3 separate regions of the Homo sapiens genome follow, and all the other regions are linked to region 3. Evidence: promoter capture Hi-C in 16 types of primary human blood cells and fetal thymus (Javierre and others, 2016). All regions are on one chromosome and are shown on one strand. The core of a region is centred on a gene start or on the middle of the fragment in contact, and the rest is flanking DNA. Distances in the headings are between cores, read along the strand shown. Region 1 overlaps TTC5 (tetratricopeptide repeat domain 5). Region 2 overlaps OR11G2 (olfactory receptor family 11 subfamily G member 2). Region 3 holds the start of OR4K5 (olfactory receptor family 4 subfamily K member 5).

Evidence for each region. The method cuts DNA at HindIII sites, captures the fragments that hold promoters and counts their contacts. A CHiCAGO score of 5 or more calls a contact.
Region 1: a fragment that was not itself captured here is called in contact with the fragment with the promoter of OR4K5 in region 3 in 1 of 17 cell types (M1 macrophages); the score reaches 5.8 in M1 macrophages.
Region 2: a fragment that was not itself captured here is called in contact with the fragment with the promoter of OR4K5 in region 3 in 1 of 17 cell types (neutrophils); the score reaches 5.2 in neutrophils.

What each region holds. Positions count from the first base shown.
Region 1 is chr14:20,291,869-20,296,868 of GRCh38, forward strand. It overlaps TTC5 (tetratricopeptide repeat domain 5), which reads right to left. Exons shown (of 10, transcript NM_138376.3): 6 at 4,522-4,578; 7 at 3,840-3,986; 8 at 3,444-3,658; 9 at 115-259. Among named protein-coding and RNA genes, the nearest start is that of TTC5, 12 kb to the right of the region's middle. RefSeq lists an enhancer at 3,188-4,387. The HindIII fragment of the contact is 523 bases long and covers 2,075-2,597 here.
Region 2 is chr14:20,200,183-20,204,565 of GRCh38, forward strand. It overlaps OR11G2 (olfactory receptor family 11 subfamily G member 2), which reads left to right. Exons shown (of 2, transcript NM_001386033.1): 2 at 1-893. Among named protein-coding and RNA genes, the nearest start is that of OR11G2, 11 kb to the left of the region's middle. The HindIII fragment of the contact is 5,403 bases long and covers 1-4,383 here.
Region 3 is chr14:19,919,178-19,923,572 of GRCh38, forward strand. OR4K5 (olfactory receptor family 4 subfamily K member 5) reads left to right here and starts at 1,430. Exons shown (of 1, transcript NM_001005483.1): 1 at 1,430-2,401. The coding sequence starts at 1,430. The coding sequence ends at 2,401. The region is part of intron 2 of LOC124903278 (a long non-coding RNA gene); the gene reads right to left. It also overlaps a transcript of OR4K1 not described here. The HindIII fragment of the contact is 8,373 bases long and covers 1-2,978 here.

The DNA of each region.
Region 1 (5,000 bases), core at 1,086-3,585, 370 kb after region 3:
ACATAGCCTACACACATACTTACATATAATTATTTCTATATCTTTTATAAAAAGATAAGCTTGGTTCTACTTTTAGAGCCTACGAGTTGTAAGAGAATCCTAGCCATTGCTCACCTTTCCTTTGTGCTGAATTCGGTGAAGCCGCAGGTTGGGCTCAGGAATGGCTACAGAGTCTCCAATGAGCACTCCCCAGCTCTGCACTATATTGTACACCATCACTGCATAGCAAGGTCCATCTGAATCTACCAGGCCAAATGTACTACCAAGTAAAGACAGATTAGGAGAGAGGAAAACAAAAAGGTATGTGGGTAGGAAAGAAGAGCAGAAACAGTGGTTTAAAAATACTAGCAAAATACTGGACTTAAAGTCAGTGACAGGTAATTAAAATAAAATATAAAATTTAACTTAATTAAACTTTAAAAATAAAATACTAACAAAATAAACAAATGCTTTTTCTCAGTTACTCAGAAAACCTATGAGAGGTACCATCTTCCACTTTATATATCTGAGTCTTCATTTTTCTGAAACTCATCAGTCACTTTGCTAAGAACTTAGGACAAAGCACACTGAAGCCATTCAACAAATATTAATGATGAACTAGACCAACATGTTACAGTTGTAACATTATTCCTGGTCTATCAATTTAACTATCATACTCTTAACCAAAGCCTCTAACCATCACTGTCTGTGTAGTTTAACTCCACAAACTTTCACTGAATATTACATATGTGCCAAGCATTGTGTTTAGCAATAAGATACCAATCCAGCTATGAATGACCTATAGTCTAGCAGGAGTCAGACAATGAAGTCATCACTTACAGCACAGTGTGATGGGTGCTAGAATAGCTTTTCCCTTGTGCTGAATTCAATGAAGCCACAGATTGGGCTGTGGGAGCCCAGAGGACAAATATCTAAATCAAAATTGGAAAGCAGGGAAGATTTCCTGGAAGAGGTGACGCTCAAAGTGAATCTTAAAGGGTAAAAAACCAGCTGGGTTAAAAGAGAAAAATTAATCCTCGGTAAAAATGTTAAAAACCTCTGAGGGGATAGGAACAGAGATTTTGACTTGGAGGCAACATCAGGGAACTTCCCAGAATGGTGGTAATGATCTCTATTTGGGTTATACAGATATTTTCCATTTGTTAAAAGCTATGAAATGTACGCTTAAAATTGTACATTTCATTGTATGTAAATTTTACATAAAAAGAAAAAATTGAAACAAATACTGAACTCAGTTAATGACTGCATGCTAAAGTATGTAAAGTATATTGATCTCTGCAATTTACTCTGATAGCAGGATAAACAGACTGATATGTAATAAGCTAAGTAAAATAAAATATTAATGGTAGAATATAAGTGGATGAGAACACAAATGTTCAATGTAAAACTCTTTCAACTTAGCTATATGTTTGAAAATTTTTATACAAAATGTTGGGGGCAGAAGAGGATGTTAGCTATGTCAAGAAGAAGCTAGAGATTATCCAGGCAGAGTAACTGTATGTAAGACACAGAGGCATGAAAACAGCTGTTCTAAAACCAACAAAATTGTTCCATGGTTGAAACAAAAGGCACTGGTGGGAAAGAGACAAAAGATAATAGAAAGAGAAGCAGGGAGCAAATCATGAAGGACTTTGTATGCTAACCTAAGTAGTTCACACTTTATCCCAAAAGCTACATATAGTACCAGTAAGGGATCTTAAATAAGAAGTAGCAATGGTCAGATTTCCATCTAAGAAACATTTCTCTGGCAGCACTGTGGAACACTGGAGGAAACCAGAGAATCAGGGAGACCTATCTGGAGAAGTGATAAGGGGGTGAATTAAGGTGGTAAACACAGAGAAGTCAAGTCTATAGGACAAAAAAGGCAAATCTTTTTGGAGAATGGAGAAGCCTATTCTTCCAAAAGTCTTAATCAAGTGACTGAGAGGTGATACCATTCATTCACAAGGAATCCAGGGAGGAGAAGCAGGTTTACAGAGAAAGATTTAGGTGAGTAATACTGAAATACTGAGTTAGAGATTTCTTATTGGAACCCAGAAGCAGATGGTTATAGGAATCCAACACTTGGAAATGAAGCTTGGGCTGGAGATATATCTGTAAGCATATAGGAGGCTGCCAAAGCCTTGGGTTTATATGACATCACAGGGCAAGATGATCTATAGACAGGATGGAGAAGAATCACACTCATGCCATCACGTGACATGCCTGAATTCACAGGAAATATTGCAATCAAGCAAAGCACTCTCCTGATGAATCCAGTCAAAGCCTCAGAATCCTTCTACACAGTATGTCAGGCAACCACTGACAAGTGATCAAAGTTGGCAACTATAGGCCATCCTGATATAAAGAGAAAAAAGGAAAAAAACAAAAATAGAGTCCTGGGAACCTAAGATTTAAAAGTTAGGCAGAAAAAGAGAAACCAAGGAGTGGCAAAATATCTATTTGTTCTCAAGGTCCTCCAAAACCTACCTTTGTCTATATCCCTTTCTAATTCTTCTCAGCTCTAGGATTTGCTCTAGTAAACTAAACTGTTCTCAACTATCTTTTTGCCCTTCAACTCGTCAAATATACAAACCCCTAGAAAATGCCATGGAGAAAGCTTGGGCATATAATGGGAATTGTGAATATTTCTGTTTAGATGAACAGAAAGGATGTGAAAAGCAATAGTGAGAGATAAGTCAGAATGTTTTGGAACCATGCAATAGAAGTTGCTGGATCCAGTGCCTAGAAAGACAATGGTGATCCTAGGAAAATAACAATTTCAGTAGAAAAGAGAAAGGGGAAACCGGTCAACCAGGGATTAGGAAGTGAGTGAAGGACCAAGGAGTGGTGGCATTCACTAAACCGTAACTTTTCAAGATCCAAAAATTTTCTAAACAAATATTCTTAATTCATTTCCTCTGCTGCTAGAAGCACCTGCACCTGGGTCCTTTACATTTCTTTTTTCTCACTCCCTATGACACATATATTACACACTCAATAAATATTTGTTGAATGACATCTAAGACAATCTCCCAACCAGACTTTAAATTATAACTCAAAGCTCACTTTTCAGAACTAAGTATACCTAAGTACAAACAGGACTAAGAAATTTGTCCTCCTTCAACTTCTATGATCATGAAAATGCAAAGGGACAGAAGAATTTTGAGGTTTCTGTCTTATAAAAAAATATGTCCTGCCAAATTTCAACTATGGATATAGGAATCCACATAGCACCAAACTCAGGGATACAAAATGGGCAGTGACAGAATCTACAAAAGCCTCTGATCAAAAGATGGTTAAACATCACCCAGACAATATCTGCCCACGGGATAGTCACAGAAGGAAATCAGAAGTCACAAATCTGTGACCACTGACAATCTCCTCAACTGCCAGGGAAAGAACAGGAAGTGAGAGCAATTAGTTCAAAAGGGTAAAATGGGGGAAATCCAAGAGAAACTCACAAGGGGACTTTCTCCTCTGTGGTGAGGCTAAATACCACCTTTCCCAGGATGACGGCACCGCTGTTCACCCCAGGCTGAAGCGTACTCAGTGGCTTGAGCTCCAGGGTCACTTTCTGCCCAGAGGCTGACTGATAGTGCCCATCACTGCAAGGGCCTAGATGGGCTGGGCGCAAGCTTCCCAGCATGCTCTGCAGCTTTTTGGTCTTCACCTTTCCCTGCAAAGAAGGGGAAATAGGTAAGAAGCTGGAAACTAGTCGCCTTCCTTGAGATTCTAATCCTTCCCTCCCACCCACTTCTATAGGGTCTCTACCTCGTAAACCTATTTATTCTTATTTTATTGACCCACGACAAAATAAAAAAAAAAAAAGTGGAATTCAGCCCTTCAGACATTTTTACCTTACTCTCAAGGAGGCTGGTTAATCTATCCAGGAATTCCAGAAGTTGTTGCTCTCGTTGCCGGGGCTCTGGCCAGGCAGGGTCCAGGGCTGCAGCCCGAGAGAAGCCCTCCAGGGCCTCCCCATAACTCTCTTCATATTTATGCAACTGTACAAGAAGTGTATCCCAATTATAAGTATATCCAGACAAACTATCCCGAGGGAATGGCACCATGGGCTAGGAATCTAGAGAAATAAACTGTTTTCCTTCCTGGTTATTTTCCTGTGCTGCAACAAACAGCCTGAAGAGCTGGTAACACCTTACATCCTTCTTCCTAGCCAAGATGATCACAACCCCAAAGATGGAATCATTTCAAAGAAGCTAATTTCCAAACTCTAAAATAGTTAAGTTGTATATATTGGCTCACTTGACCTTTATATTTACTTAACATTTCAGAAGTCTTCTAAAAGATCCCCCCATTCTCTACCTATTCTTCCACCTCCACAGCCCCTTCTCCTTTCCCTCCAGTGACTACACCAGATACTGAAGCCAAACCGAGCTAGCTATTTATAGAAATAGCATGGCTTTCCTCTCGCAGTCTGTACCCAATCTTGTCCCTATGCAAACTCAGTTATCCTCACAAGCTAAGACATAGGTGTCTTATTTATTTGACCCTCAGATGACTACACCCCAAAGGTCTTACCGTCGCCCTGTTCAGATGAAGGTCAGGATTGCTAGAAGCTTTTCTGTCAACTTTCTCCTATAATGGGATGAAAAGATTATCAGTGGATCCTGTCTCAATGTTAAGGACTGACATGCCCAACATGTCCTACGCCTCCTCTTTCTAGAGAAATGGAAGTTTCTTCCTTGCCAAAATGGTATTTATACCACAGAAGCAGTTACCGTATAACAGTGTGGATATCTTAGTCCCAAAACCTTAGGGATATAAGTGTTTTTGTATGTGTGAGACTTCAAAATATTATTATAATTTATCCATGTAGTAGTATTAAGATAGAATAAATCTTTATATAAATGAAATATGTGGGCCGGGCACAGTGGCTCACACCTGTAATCCCAGCACTTTGGAAAGCCAAGGCTGGCAGATCACCTGAGGTCAGGAGCTCAAGACCAGACTGGCCAACCTGGTGAAACACTGTCTCTACTAAAAATACAAAACTTAGC
Region 2 (4,383 bases), core at 1,268-3,767, 280 kb after region 3:
TCCACCACCCTTTTAACTAGCCCAAGTTCCCTTTGCTTTGAAAAGTAACCCTGAATTTCTCTTTAGGACTTCTCACTTATTTGCCAGTCATATCACAATAAGTTTGTTTCCTTAATATAAACGAAGCTCTGTAAAATAGTAAGAGAACAGAACAGTATCCCAGTAAGAAAATGAGCAAAAGGATATAAACGAATAACATCCAGAAAAAGATTCTTAAACATGGAAAGGGCACTAACTAATTCATAAAAAGGTAAAAGTAGAATAAGCCTATAAATATATCTCACTTTTTATCTATTAAATTGACAAAGATCAAGAAGTTTGATTACACATTGCGTGTCTGAGGATTGTGAAATGGGTTCTCTCACACTTAGCTGGTGGGCGTATCAGCTTTACAAACTCTATATAGGGTGACAAGGCAACCTCTATCAAAATTTAGAAGACACATATCCTTTAAAACAGCACCTCAACTTTTAAGTTGTTTAACCTACAGATATTTTTACACATGTGGGAAATGTTTACTGCAGCATTGTTGTAATAGCAAAATATTGAGAAAAACATCAGTTCCCATTAATAGAAGACTAGTAAAATGAGCTATGGTGAGTTATACCATGGAATATTATGTCTTCAATTTATAAACTATGAAGCAGTTCCATATGCAATGATATATAATATGTCCAAGACACACTGTTAAATGAAAAAAGCAAAGTGAATAGCAGAGTGTATTGTAGCTGCCTTCCATGGAAATGTGTATATCTCCTGAAAGAGCTCCAAAAAACTGATAACAATGGTTGCTTCAGGCAAGAAGAATTTTGTGTCTAAGGAACAAGATAGTAAAGGAGACTTTTTTTTCATAACTCCTTTTGTGCGTTCAAATTCTTTATCATGTGCCTATATTATGCATTGAAAAAATAATAAAACATATTTTGTAAAATTTTTTTATTTCCATAGGTTATTGGGGAACAGGTGATGTTTGGTTATATGAGTAAGTTCTTTAAACAAAGAACAATTTTCAATTTTTTTTTTTTTTTTTTTTTTTTGAGATGGAGTTTAGCTCCTGTTGCCCAGGCTGGAGTGCAATGGCGCCATCTCGGCTCACTGCAACCTCCACCTCCCACGTTCAAATGATTCTCCTGTCTCAGCCTCCTGAGTAGCTGGGATTACAGGTGCCCGCCACTACGCCTGGCTAATTTTTGGTATTTTTAGTAGAGATGGAGATTCACCATGTTGGCCAGGCTGGTCTCGAACTTCTGACCTCAGGTGATCCACCCACCTCGGCCTCCCAAAGTGCTGGGATTACAGGCGTGAGCCACTGCACCCGGCCAACAAAGAACAATTTTCTAGGAGAACTTTCTGATCATTAGATTTGGAAAATCATTTTTTCCCGCAATTCTAGGGTTCCTTAGGAGCCTGTTTATTGATAGAAATGTTGAAGCGAGGTCTTCAGAGCCCCTTAACATAATTTCACTCAGATAGTTTCGTACTTTAGAAAAAACCTGAGATACAGCTTCCTCATCTTAGGGCTTGTGTAAATATACTGTTATAAAACTTTAACGAGTTTTATCACAGTTATATTTAGACATCATCTCCCTTATTTTTCAATTACTGATTTTTATTGCCCTTGTTCGGCACCTGCAATGTACCAAACATTGAGCCAGGAAATAAATTTGAGACAAAGGTATATAAGACACATTTTCTTCCCTCATAGGATTCACAGTCTTGTGATCGAGAAAATTGGAAGGTTTTCTTTTTGTTAAGTAGCAAAAGTTCAGTGAGAGGGGAAGGCCTAATTACAGTGGAAGCTCACGAGAAGCTGCATGTATGTAAGTATGGAACTTGTGTGAAAGAGGTTGTAAGCACAGCACAGGCATTGTCTTTTTGCAAGTGCACCTCAGGTTACAGAATAGAAGTGCTTCTAGAAATTATTTTACACCATCGTATAATCAACCACTGCTAGTGGTTACTACTAAGGTCCCAGAGACAAAGCAAGTATGACCATAAAATATAATATAGGCTGGGCGTGGTGGCTATGCCTATAATCCGAGCACTTTGGGAGGCCGAGGTGGGTGGATCACCTGAGATCAGGAGTTCGAGACTAGCCTGGCCAACATGGTGAAACCCTGTCTCTACTAAAAATACAAAAAAAAAAATAGCCGGGTGTGGTGACGTATGCCTGTAATCCCAGCTACTTGGGAAGCTGAGGCGGGAGAATCCCTTGAACCCGGGAGGTGGAGCTTCCAGTGATCTGAGATCATGCCATTGTGCTCCAGCCTGGGCAACAAGAGTGAAACTTCATCTCAAAAAATAACAATAATAATAGTAATAATATAAATTGAATACAAAAGAGAGATATTATTTAAAATGTTAAGTAAATATAGATTTTAGTAATAGAATGTTGAATTGCTTCGATCTACCATCTTGCTGTGATCAAATAAAAATACTAAATTTAAAAAAAAACTTAAAAACATTGACAATCTGAAGAGAGAATAGAAAATGGCTAAGTCATTTTTTTATGAAAGCCTGAGAGGTGAGCACTAAGGCCATTCATGCTCAGAGAGCACTTGACTGTAGTTCATATCCTTATGCTTCAGGACAATTCCTGGCTGAGGAGATAGAAATAGGAACCTGGTGCTGGTGGGGAGGGGGTGGTCACAAAAAGCTGGTGCTCTAATGGTCTTCATCCTCAGGTAAGGATGAACCAGAGCTAGACCTGATGCCACTCAGAAGGGAATCACTCATCCCTGGAAGTTTGTGGCCATGGTTTAGCTCTCGTTTGAATTTTCTTCAATTTCCCCATTACACTAGCAATCTCTTCATCTTTTTTTTTTTTTTTTTTTTTTAGTTCAAAGGTGTTAGGCTTTCTTTTTGTTGTTGTTGTTTGCAGTTTGGGGGTTTTTTTAGATAGTATCTCACCCTGTCACCCATGCTGGAATACAGTGGTATGATCACAGCTAATTGCAGCCTCAACCTCTTGGGCTCAAGCAATCCTCCCACCTTAGCCTCTCAAGTAGCTGGGACCACAGGCACATGCCACCATGCCTGGCTAATTTTTTTTTTTTTTTTTTTAGAAATTGGGTCTCTCTATGTTGCCCAGGCTGTAGGCTTTCTATTAAAGACTTTGCCATCCTCTTTTTCCTTTGTTTCATTTTATGAATGGACACAACTCAAAATTTTTAAGTAAAATATTTTAATCCTCCAGCCTACATGAAATGTTAAGTCACAAAACAGCCTTAATCATTTTGAAAGATTAAAATCGTACCTATCTTTCTCAAATCACAATGGAATAAAACCGTAAATCAACAGCAAAAAGAAATATCCACAAATATGTGGATATTCAACAACACAATCTAAACCAAGCGATGAGTCAGAGAAGTCACAAGGGAAATTATAAAGTATCTTGAGACAAATAAAAATGAAAACACAACATACCAAAATTTACAAGATGAAAAGAAAGCAGCACTAAGAGAGAAATTTATAGCTATAAAGGCTTACATTATAAAAGAAGAAAAATCTCAACTCAAAAACCTAACTTTATGCCATAAGAAACTAGAAAAAGAAGAACAAACTAAATTCAAAGCTAGCAAATGGTAGGAAATAATGAAGATTACAGCAGGGATAAATGAAGTGAAAATATAAAACTGTAGAGAAAATGAACAAAACCAAAAGTTTGTTATTCAAAAAGATAAACTAAGTGGACAAGACTTTAGCTAGATTAAGAAAAAAAGAAGACTCAACAAAAATTAGAAATTAAATGAGGACATTACAACTGATTTTCTAGAAATTAGTTTTTATAACTTTTCCTATGAACAAAAAGAAGTTATCTCGAATTCCACACAGACGTCTCATCATTGCCTTTCAAAACATTCTTCTTGCCTTTGCTCTGGGGTCCAATTTGCCCTAAACTACATGAAAACTGTGGATGGAAGAAAGGATGCTATGCCAAGGACTCTTGAGGGAGTCATAAACCAGCCCAAGGGAAGACTGAAGTCATCACAATAATCTCCAAGACAAAACTTTAATTGCACCCCTGAATCACAGTGACACATTTCTTCATTCACCTGCACCCTCTTTCTGAAATCTCTTCATGAGGTTCATATGCCACTGCTTTTGTGGCACTATTCTGCCACAAAAGTAATTCATATATAAAACTCACCTGTTGACCTTTCTCTGCTGGATGAGACAATTGGAAGGTCTGGGTGCCCGGAGGTGACTGAGGTCCTTTATGTAGCCCTTGATGAAAATAACCACCCTGTCAGTCGAGGCCTAAACCTCAAGGGCTGACCATAGGAGGAGTGTGCTTCTTTCCTCTGGCTATAACTGTTACCCAAAGAATTACCTGTAAGTGTTCCTTTTGAGCACTTCAGGAAAGGAGAAAAGGGAGTTTCA
Region 3 (4,395 bases), core at 180-2,679:
GTGGAATGCTTCTCTGAACCTTCTTCCAATAGAGTACACAATATGATTGTTTACTGTGGGGCTTCCCGGTGTGGATTGCAACTGCATTCATCTAAATGAGAGACTAGGTCTGTAGCCTAGAGACAAAGGAAAGACTCTGGCTTCTTGTATGAAATAAATTAGCAGAAAAAGATGTTCATGTTCTCACATGGGACTAGAATTAGATCATTACTCTCTCAGGCCTCTTACTATGACTGTTGTCAACAGTTAATTGTCAGAACTAATATGGTTTCCTAAAACAGCACTTCTTTAAAGTTTTTCCAGTTCAACTGAACTAGATTTATACAGTAGGGGTATGTCTTTACAGGGTGAAAAACATACGATGCAAATTTTTAGATATTTTCAAGAGCATGAGAGGTTTATAATCATTTTTACTTCTCTATCCAGAAATTTTTTTTAAACTTCATTTTCCAGCATTAATTATAAAGATGTTTTAAGAAGATCATGGAGAACTCTAGCAGGGAGAATGTAAGTGGGCTGAAATCTAATTCTGATAGGCAAAGAAAATGAAAAATTTAGGTTCCACTCTTGGATAATCAACAGAAAATAGGATTTAGATAATTCAGGTAAGCCATAATATGTGTTTTAAGAAATTATTGGATAACTAATTGACAAACTCAGTTGGAACTATAGGCCAGTATAATATACATTCAATAGTATCTGTTTAGCAGGAATTGCCTAATTGTAAATGACTCCTGCAGGAGCACGAAGGTAAATTTCTATTAATATAGGGTGTTTAATGTATTAAGATCATATGTTGCAATACAATTACTTTGATGGTAGAATGTCATGAGTTATTCTGCTTAAACTCTAAAGTTTTCTGTAAAGTAGGTATTTTTATACCTCCCATCTTTTTTAAGGTGTGGAATTAAAGCTCAGATAAAATAATTGGCCAAAAGTTAATCTGTGTGACTTTACATCATGTAATAATAATCAAGCCATGAATATCTCTTCAAAAGTTAAGAATGTTGTATAATTGATGATGTAAGATGACCACAAGACAAGCAAATGTAAACACTTTTTGTCAACCTATGAGGCTTGTGGAGCTGGACTCTAGGTCACTCCTCTAGTCTTGTTGTCATGAGTCAGCTCCTGGGTAAGCTCATTTCCTACTGTATAAAAGACAAGGACTATCCAAAAACTCAAGGGGTTCTAATTATACTGATTAAATTATTAAGCATTATTTAGACATTTACATAAGTTCTTTCCTATTATCCACCTATCCAGACATACTATTATGGCCTCTTCAAAATTTTTGCATTCAGCAAATGCACATTATATCTGAGATCTCAGAATCCCTCACCTTAAAAGTATTCTTAATTCAAATTCTGATTCCTTTCTATTTATCCTCCTTTAGAGTTGTTTCAGAACAAGTTTGCAGCTTGGAACCATGGATAAGTCCAATTCTTCAGTGGTGTCTGAATTTGTACTGTTGGGACTCTGTAGTTCTCAAAAACTCCAGCTTTTCTATTTTTGTTTCTTCTCTGTGTTGTATACAGTCATTGTGCTGGGAAATCTTCTCATTATCCTCACAGTGACTTCTGATACCAGCCTGCACTCCCCTATGTACTTTCTCTTGGGAAACCTTTCCTTTGTTGACATTTGTCAGGCTTCTTTTGCTACCCCTAAAATGATTGCAGATTTTCTGAGTGCACACGAGACCATATCTTTCAGTGGCTGCATAGCCCAAATTTTCTTTATTCACCTTTTTACTGGAGGGGAGATGGTGCTACTTGTTTCGATGGCCTATGACAGGTATGTAGCCATATGCAAACCCTTATACTATGTGGTCATCATGAGCCGAAGGACATGCACTGTCTTGGTAATGATCTCCTGGGCTGTGAGCTTGGTGCACACATTAAGCCAGTTATCATTTACTGTGAACCTGCCTTTTTGTGGACCTAATGTAGTAGACAGCTTTTTTTGTGATCTTCCTCGAGTCACCAAACTTGCCTGCCTGGACTCTTACATCATTGAAATACTAATTGTGGTCAATAGTGGAATTCTTTCCCTAAGCACTTTCTCTCTCTTGGTCAGCTCCTACATCATTATTCTTGTTACAGTTTGGCTCAAGTCTTCAGCTGCAATGGCAAAGGCATTTTCTACGCTGGCTTCCCATATTGCAGTAGTAATATTATTCTTTGGACCTTGCATCTTCATCTATGTGTGGCCCTTTACCATCTCTCCTTTGGATAAATTTCTTGCCATATTTTACACTGTTTTCACCCCCGTCCTAAACCCCATTATTTATACACTAAGGAATAGGGATATGAAGGCTGCCGTAAGGAAAATTGTGAACCATTACCTGAGGCCAAGGAGAATTTCTGAAATGTCACTAGTAGTGAGAACTTCCTTTCATTAAGACAAAACTCCTTCAAATTCCTCAGGTCAATACACTGTTTAATATTTTAATGTATTTTTGTGGTGTATCTCAATTGTGGGGAAAGTAGTGAAGAAGATAATATAGAGAACATTTAATGAATATTAACAAGTCTTTTTCTAGGTATCAAGTGAAAGTTAAATATAAAAACATGGAAAAATCTCTGTTTAGATTACTGGTTCTAGAAATAAAATATGGGCACTAGATGGATAATATGTATGCATTTACTGCTTTTGTTACGGGGTAAATGTAAATATCAAGAAAAAAATCAATGAGAACCTAATTCTCTGGTGGGCATACATTCAAACATTTGTCAGGTTTTAAGAGTTTTCTTAACAACATGCCTAAAACTTCTATGTGGATGAATAGTATTTAAGAATCTGAAACTGAATTTTGCCAACTTCAGGGAATAGCCAAACTACAATTTAATATAACTGCTTAAGTTCAAGTGGAGATTATTAGGTTATGAGACTCCCCCCCCCAAAAATCAATTATGCCTATCCCATACGGTTTTCAAATAGCTAAAATGCTTTAAAATATGGAATGATACATACTCAGAAGCTTCCATTTTAAACCTTTCATTTAAAGGGCTGCCTCTGATTGGCTAGATAATTCCAATTTCCTTTTAGATTATGAGTTGCAGAAAAGAGAGGAGAATCTAGAAAGCTGAACTATTTCAACACCAAGATTTTCGTTTGTGCCACTTCTCTTCTTGTTCCTACAGTGCAGCTGCCAGTGGCTTATGTTCAGGCACCCAGTGGTACTCATCCTCCAGCAAGTTTTATTGCCAGCCTTGGCCTTAAATTCTCTGATCCCCATCTTCACTTCACCTTCTGTGGACTAGATCTGGTCCAGTGCAACCCAGAGAACCTCTCTCCATCTAGGGGGCCTCACTCATATTCTCTCCAAAGAGTTCTGAAACTCAACCTTGGGCAGGGCATCACCCTTCCACATTTATTTCTTCTTTGGTTTCTCTCCTTTAGGCCTATGGTATTTTTTTTTTTCAAAGTAAACTGAAGACGATTCAGATTCAGATTTAATCAGTTTTTACATGTACTCTTTTTTTTTTTACTATTGCTTTATAGTATTATGAAATATCATTGCATAAATAGATTCATGTAGTCACAACAGCCACAATAAGGACATAGACCTCTTCCGTCACTTCAAAGAAACTTTCCTGTGCTGTCTCCCCTGTGATCTTAACCCTGGCAACCAATGATCTGTTCCCCATCACTCTATTTTATTTTTTCATTTCAAGAGTGTTGTAAAATTTATCAGCTGTTCAAATGGCCTTTGTAATAATTTTTAGAAAATTTAATGTGGTTGGATTTGTGAATCATTTTTGGTATCTTTTTTTGTGTGTATGTGTCTGATTTAAGAAATCCTTCTCTCTGTCAAGATCATAAAGACATTATTTAGATTTTCTTCTGTAAATTAAAACATATATTGCTTTTTATACTTAAGAATTTCATCGCTTTGTAACTCATTTTGTACATTTTGGGAGCTAGGCATCTATTTTTATATATTTGTAAATATGTAGAAATCAGACTTGGTGTCATTTATTTAATTGTTCATTATTTCCCTCAATTTGCAATACTACCTCTCTTACATTTTCAGCTTCAGTGTATGTATGGATTTGTTACTAGACTCTATTCTGTTTCGTTAATGCATGTGTTTAGCCCTGCACCCATATTACGCTGTTTTAATTTACTACAGTTTTAAAATAAATCTTGATGTCTGATAGATTAAGTTCTCTCATCTCTTATTTTTCAGTGTCTTTGTTAGTTTATCCCCTTTATGTTCTATAAACATTTTACAACCAGCTCGTCAGATTTCTTAAAATATTATTTCAGGATTTTGTTGTAATTGCATTGGATTCATGTGTTAATTGACATACAAAGATATTTATTATATTCATTGTATATAACATATTTATTAACTTATAGAGAATGACATCTTTTACAAATAAATGTTGA